2 separate regions of the Homo sapiens genome follow, and region 2 is linked to region 1. The links are contacts of gene promoters, found by promoter capture Hi-C in human tissues and cell types (Jung and others, 2019). All regions are on one chromosome and are shown on one strand. Each heading gives the region's core, a stretch centred on a gene start or on the middle of the fragment in contact. The rest is flanking DNA. Distances are from core to core; before and after follow the strand shown. Region 1 holds the start of LRP12 (LDL receptor related protein 12). Region 2 has its middle 160 kb from the start of LRP12.

Region 1 (3,631 bases), core at 435-2,934:
GTTAATTATTAGATTTTTGTAATACTTATTAATACATTTTTCTCTTATCTTTTGGAATAGCATTTCCTGGTTTTAAAAAAAAAAACTTAAAAGGGGGCAAATCGGCAGGAGACTGAGGAAAAGCCTAAATGTATTCCCCAGAAAGTATGTTTTAAATTTTAACATTTACTTACTGAGAGGTGAGGCCAGCTGAACTTCCTGGGTCCAGTGGGGACTTGAGGAACTTTCCTGTCTTACAAGAGGATTGTAAAATGCACCAATCAGCGCTCTGTAAAATGCACCAATCAGCACTCTGTAAAACGCACCAATCAGCAGGATTCCAAAAGTAGCCAATCGCAGGGAGGATTGAAAGAGGGGCACTCCGATAGGACAGAAATGGAACATGGGAGGGGACCACAAGGGAATAAAAGCTGGCCACCACCAGCCAGCACCTGGGGTTCTCTTCCATGCTGTGGAAGCTGTCCTTTTGCTCTTCGCAATAAACCTTGCTACCGCTCACTCTTTGAGTCCGTGCCATCTTTAAGAGCTGTTAACAGTCACCGGGAAGGTCTGCAGCTTCATTCTTGAAGTCAGGGAGACCACGAACCCCCTGGCAGGCACCAACTCCGACACATTACTAGGCGCTAAGCATTGTGCTAGAGAGTTTGCTGTGGTATAGGGGCAACAATCTTTACTTTGGAATGAGAAAAACTGTTTCAAACAACTTACTTGCCATGAGTAATTTAATTTCTCTCTTTTCTATAAAACATGGGTAATATTTATCTCACAAGGATGTTTGGGATTAAAAAGTGACAACCTATGTCAATAGGACAGCATGATGCAGTGTAGGTCTTCAATGAATAGCATGGAGAGTGCTTGCAAAGGGCAACGATAAAATCTAATATAAATAAGACGTTGTAGACAAACGCTTTAAAAACACAGGGGGTAAGGTCTGATGTGCCAGCGTCACTACAGACGTACTTAGAAAAGTGTTCTGGGGATCTAAGTAAAGGAGGACTCCCATTTGCTGGGAGTGAGAAAAGAGCTTTAGGGAAACTGCAGCGTGATGGGCGAATCCTCCTTTCAATATATCTACCCTGAAAGTCGGCTCCAGCCCTGCCGAACATCCTGGCCCAGCTGCACCCGACCCAGCGTGAGATGTCAAATGACCTCTTGGCGCTTCCACGCCAGACTGGAGGGGCTCTGCACAAGCCTTGCCCGACTCATTCCGGGCACCTTGAGCGTGGGAGTCCACACTGCCCCTTGACCGACCAGCTGCCAGGTTGGCCGCACTAACTTGAGCCCACCCCCACTCGAAGCTCCGCGCCGACAGCAAGTGGAGACTTGGGGGTACCGGATAGAGGAAGGAACTCCCAAGTTGTCAGCTTCAGACCATCCACGCCTCCCCCAACACGGAACCACCTTCAGCCTCCCAGCTGGTATCCCACCCCCCCTCCCCCCACCCGCTGGGCCAGAGCCCAGCCCTCGGACAGCGACCGTGCTCCTCCACACACCCCGCGCTCCAGCCCCTGGGCATCCAGCAGCCGGCGTTCGCACGCTCTGTCATCGATTGGCGCTGCCTTGCTCCTTGGGCTCCCGTCGCGTGGAAATCGGCCCGAAACTTGGAAAGTCCAGCGGAGCGCGGGGAGGGAACCGAGGCAGGCGGGCCAGGGGATTGCCGATCGCACGGATGGGCGCGCGCTCAGTCTGGCGAGTGGCGGCGCCGGCTAGCCCGAGCGGCGCGAGGCCGGAGTCCGGCGTCCGCCACCCTCTCGTCTCGCGCTGGCGCGCGAGCTCCTTGCCCTTGCCCCCAGGAGGGCCGCCCCGCGTGGGGCTCTCGCACCGCCCGGGGTGGGAGCAGGCGAGCCGGAGGGAGGAGGGAGGAGGGAGCGCGCGCGGGCGGCGGCGGCCCCTCCCTTCCCCCTCCCGCAGCCGCGGAGAGCGCAGGGAGCAGCCGGTGGCTCGGCGGCGGCGGCGGCGGCGGCGGCGGCGTCGGCGTCGTCTACCTCCAGCTTCTCCTCCCTCCTCCTCCGTCTCCTCCTCTCTCTCTCCATCTGCTGTGGTTATGGCCTGTCGCTGGAGCACAAAAGAGTCTCCGCGGTGGAGGTCTGCGTTGCTCTTGCTTTTCCTCGCTGGGGTGTACGGTAAGTGTCCGCGTCCCCGCGCCCCGCTGACCGAACAAAGCTGAGGCGACCCGGGCCCCGAGGCCTCCAGGACGGGGGTTCCCCTGGAGACTCCCGCGGAGACCCTGGCTACCGGCGGGACAAAGACCGGTGAGGGGGTGGATGTGGCGGAACGGGTGTCCCCACACGGAGATGCTTTTCTCCACTCGTCCACCTCCAGACCCTCGGGTGGTGGAGAGGGGCTGGGGGGCCCGGCCGGGAGGGCCCCGGCGGAGCGAGGGGGTGGCGGGCGGACTTCCCGACCTGGGTTCGAGGGCCCCCGCGGCCAGTTGCTCCAGGACCCGTAGCCTGGCACAATCCACACACAAAGATGCTTGACTGTGAGAAAGCAGAGGAGCTCGCCCCCGCCGCTGCCGGGACGGTCCTTCCCCCCGCCCCCTCAACCCGGGGTTAGGAAGTTCTCTCACCGGCGAGATTCCCACCGCGCCAGCCCTTGTCCTACTCGATTCCCTGAAAAGGCTTCCCGCTGACTTCTCCCCACTCCACCTCGGGGGCAAGGGCTCTGCCGAATCCGGGCGTGCAGGGTCCTGTTGGTTCCCCGGGAGCAGCACGCGGGAGAAGGCCAGAAAATAGTTTCCAGCCCCACCTCAGTCTCTCCTGTTAGGGTGTACACATCTGTCCTGACTCCTAGTTCAATTGTAATTTCATCCATCCTCGTCCGCCGCTGTGGTCACTGTTACTTTATTCCAGTCGATGGATCGGGTTAGAGATAACTCCTTTCGGGTTAAGAGAAGGCTGAAGACTGTGCGGACAGCTTTATATTGCGTTGGGGTCTGAGCAAGAGCTGAATGGAATTAATTGCAAAGAACATCTATCTCTTAAGATAATTAAGTTACACTTCTGACTTCACCGTTCTTAGTTCATCAGTTAAACACACTGAATAGGTATTTCAGAGAGCTCAGTTTTAACCTTTCCTTTTTGGAGTGTTGCTCTGATTTCTCCAGAAAAAGAATTAGAAGATATCATTACTTTGGTAAATTTTACTTATAAAAAGTCTAATTCATTTGCCACAAACATTGATTTGACTAGTATAATGGTGGTGGTGGTGAGGTTTAGTCAACAGCCAATTTGTCAGCAAGTGTTATCTCTTTTGAAGGCATTTATCTACGGAATTGAATGTGATGGTGGCTTTTGAAACCTGGCAAGTGACGCTAAATGAAGAATTAATGAACGTAATTGGGCATTTACTGACAGCCAAGAAATTCTTTTTGGTACAATTAAGGATGTGTTGCTCCCGTACCTGATTAGTAGTATTTTTGTTTGTTTTGGTGAGGAGAGTAGTTTGGTCCATTTTTTATGTAGGGGTAATTGCCAGAGGTGTGCTTGTGTGGGACCAAAAACCCAGTACACGACTTTTGATTGTTAGCTGCATCAAGTGGCTGTAATCCCTGCTTGCCTGATGACTTGTGGGTTTGGGTCTACACCAGAGATCAATAAGCTATTACGTTGTTTCTTCTGCCCTGAAGGTG
Region 2 (3,631 bases), core at 707-3,206, 160 kb before region 1:
GAGCCTAAGTTATACTATATAGCCTAGATATGTAGTAGGTTGCCATCCAGCTTTGTGTAAGTACACTCTATGATGTTCACACAATTATGAAATTGCCTAACAATGCATTTGTCAGAATGTGGCCCCATTGTTAAGTGACACATGACTACAAGACGGTAAGACATTCACTGAGGCTTTGTAGGGGCAGGCAGTGAGAATTGCTTTGGATTGAGTCATTTCCCTTCTCTTTGAGTCACCCTTCCATGGCAGAGGGAAAGGAGGTGATCCTACCTCCCTCTGTTAAGCCAGATGAGGAGTCTTTAGAAGAATCATTTGGGGGGCAAGATTCATATTCCTTGGAGTCTGAAGGATGCGGAGACTTCATTTATACATGGGAAGTCTAGATGGAGAGAATCTGGGGTTGGCCAAAGGGGCCTTTGGCAGTCTAATCTAGAAGGGGGCTATCCCCAAGAAGTCCCTGTAGGGGCCCTTGCAGAGAAAGAGTCAATATGGATATTCACCTTCCACAAGAGGCCCCAGGCCATAAGACTTTCCGTCCTCCCTAATGCTCACAACCAAAAGATGACAGAAGGCCTAATGGAGGTGCCTAATGCACAGGTGGGGATTTAACACTGAACACTTCGAGACTGAGAGGGCTGGGAAATGTCCCGGGCACTAGCTGACAAAGGGAGAAGGCACAGAATATAAGCATCTTAATAAATAATAATGGATCAAAGCCCAGGGATTCTTTCCTGGATCGTGTCAATCCTGAGGTTACAGTGCTTTCCTAAGGGAAGGGAAGAGGCCTAGTCCTCCCCAGCAAGAATGGAAATTGAATTTCTTACCAATCCTGGCTGACCTGTACCAACCCATATATAATCAGATTTTTTTTTTTTTTTTAAAGAAAGAAACATGATGTTTGTTGCACAGAAGTGTTGTAGAGCTATTAATATAGGTCACATATGTATGTATACAGCTCCTCATGTATTGTCCGGCACTTAGTGGAAGCTTAACAGATGCTAGCTCCCTCTTGGGACATTTTTTCTTACTGACCAGAAAATTCTAGGATGGTCAAGTTTGTTGACCTTGAAAATGATGGAAGAAGGCCGTTGCTCAAAATAGTAGCCTCATTGGAAGGATCACTTGAGCCCAGAAGTTCGAGGCTGCAGTGAGCTATGATTGTACGAACCACTGCACTCCAGCCTAGGCGACAGAGTGAGGCTCCATCTCTAAAAATAAAAAAATAGGGAGGAGGAGCCAAGATGGCCGAATAGGAACAGCTCCGGTCTACGGCTCCCAGCGTGAGCGACGCAGAAGACGGGTGATTTCTGCATTTCCATCTGAGGTACCGGGTTCATCTCACTAGGGAGTGCCAGACAGTGGGCGCAGGCCAGTGTGTGTGCGCACCGTGCACGAGCCAAAGCAGGGCGAGGCATTGCCTCACCTGGGAAGCGCAAGGGGTCAGGGAGTTCCCTTTCCGAGTCAAAGAAAGGGGTGACGGACGCACCTGGAAAATCGGGTCACTCCCACCCGAATATTGCGCTTTTCAGACCGGCTTAAGAAACGGCGTACCACGAGACTATATCCCACACCTGGCTCAGAGGGTCCTACGCCCACGGAATCTCGCTGATTGCTAGCACAGCAGTCTGAGATCAAACTGCAAGGCGGCAGCGAGGCTGGGGGAGGGGCGCCCGCCATTGCCCAGGCTTGCTTAGGTAAACAAAGCAGCCGGGAAGCTCGAACTGGGTGGAGCCCACCACAGCTCAAGGAGGCCTGCCTGCCTCTGTAGGCTCCACCTCTGGGGGCAGGGCACAGACAAACAAAAAGACAGCAGTAACCTCTGCAGACTTAAGTGTCCCTGTCTGACAGCTTTGAAGAGAGCAGTGGTTCTCCCAGCACGCAGCTGGAGATCTGAGAACGGGCAGACTGCCTCCTCAAGTGGGTCCCTGACCCCCGAGCAGCCTAACTGGGAGGCACCTCCCAGCAGGGGCACACTGACACCTCACACGGCAGGGTATTCCAACAGACCTGCAGCTGAGGGTCCTGTCTGTTAGAAGGAAAACTAACAACCAGAAAGCACATCTACACCGAAAACCCATCTGTACATCACCATCATCAAAGACCAAAAGTAGATAAAACCACAAAGATGGGGAAAAAACAGAACAGAAAAACTGGAAACTCTAAAATGCAGAGTGCCTCTCCTCCTCCAAAGGAATGCAGTTCCTCACCAGTAACAGAACAAAGCTGGATGGAGAATGATTTTGACGAGCTGAGAGAAGAAGGCTTCAGACGATCAAATTACTCTGAGCTACGGGAGGACATTCAAACCAAAGGCAAAGAAGTTGAAAACTTTGAAAAAAATTTAGAAGAATGTATAACTAGAATAACCAATACAGAGAAGTGCTTAAAGGAGCTGATGGAGCTGAAAACCAAGGCTCGAGAACTACGTGAAGAATGCAGAAGCCTCAGGAGCCGATGCGATCAACTGGAAGAAAGGGTATCAGCATTGGAAGATGAAATGAATGAAATGAAGCGAGAAGGGAAGTTTAGAGAAAAAAGAATAAAAAGAAATGAGCAAAGCCTCCAAGAAATATGGGACTATGTGAAAAGACCAAATCTACGTCTGATTGGTGTACCTGAAAGTGATGTGGAGAATGGAACCAAGTTGGAAAACACTCTGCAGGATATTATCCAGGAGAACTTCCCCAATCTAGCAAGGCAGGCCAACGTTCAGATTCAGGAAATACAGAGAACGCCACAAAGATACTCCTCGAGAAGAGCAACTCCAAGACACATAATTGTCAGATTCACCAAAGTTGAAATGAAGGAAAAAATGTTAAGGGCAGCCAGAGAGAAAGCTCGGGTTACCCTCAAAGGAAAGCCCATCAGACTAACAGCGGATCTCTCAGCAGAAATCCTACAAGCCAGAAGAGAGTGGGGGCCAATATTCAACATTCTTAAAGAAAAGAATTTTCAACCCAGAATTTCATATCCAGCCAAACTAAGCTTCATAAGTGAAGGAGAAATAAAATACTTTATAGACAAGCAAATGCTGAGAGATTTTGTCACCACCAGGCCTGCCCTAAAAGAGCTCCTGAAGGAAGCGCTAAACATGGAAAGGAACAACTGGTACCAGCCGCTGCAAAATCATGCCAAAATGTAAAGACCATCGAGACTAGGAAGAAACTGCATCAACTAATGAGCAAAATCACCAGCTAACATCATAATGACAGGATCAAATTCACACATAACAATATTAACTTTAAATATAAATGGACTAAATTCTGCAATTAAAAGACACAGACTGGCAAGTTGGATAAAGAGTCAAGACCCATCAGTGTGCTGTATTCAGGAAACCCATCTCACGTGCAGAGACACACATAGGCTCAAAATAAAAGGATGGAGGAAGATCTACCAAGCCAATGGAAAACAAAAAAAGGCAGGGGTTGCAATCCTAGTCTCTGATAAAACAGACTTTAAACCAACAAAGATCAAAAGAGACAAAGAAGGCCATTACATAATGGTAAAGGGATCAATTCAACAAGAGGAGCTAACTATCCTAAATATTTATGCACCCAATACAGGAGCACCCAGATTCATAAAGCAAGTCCTGAGTGACCTACAAAGAGACTTAGACTCCCACACATTAATA

What was found. The method cuts DNA at HindIII sites, captures the fragments that hold promoters and counts their contacts. A contact is called where the count stands out against the background at its distance.
Region 2: a contact is called between a fragment that was not itself captured here and the fragment with the promoter of LRP12 in region 1, in 1 of the 25 tissues and cell types used here (dorsolateral prefrontal cortex).

The regions. Positions count from the first base shown.
Region 1 is chr8:104,587,311-104,590,941 of GRCh38, reverse strand. It overlaps LRP12 (LDL receptor related protein 12), which reads left to right and starts at 1,684. Exons shown (of 7, transcript NM_013437.5): 1 at 1,684-2,123. The coding sequence starts at 2,045. RefSeq lists silencers at 1,646-1,985, 2,416-2,525. The HindIII fragment of the contact is 16,882 bases long and covers 1-3,631 here.
Region 2 is chr8:104,743,469-104,747,099 of GRCh38, reverse strand. No RefSeq gene overlaps it. Among named protein-coding and RNA genes, the nearest start is that of LRP12, 160 kb to the right of the region's middle. The HindIII fragment of the contact is 3,950 bases long and covers 1-3,631 here.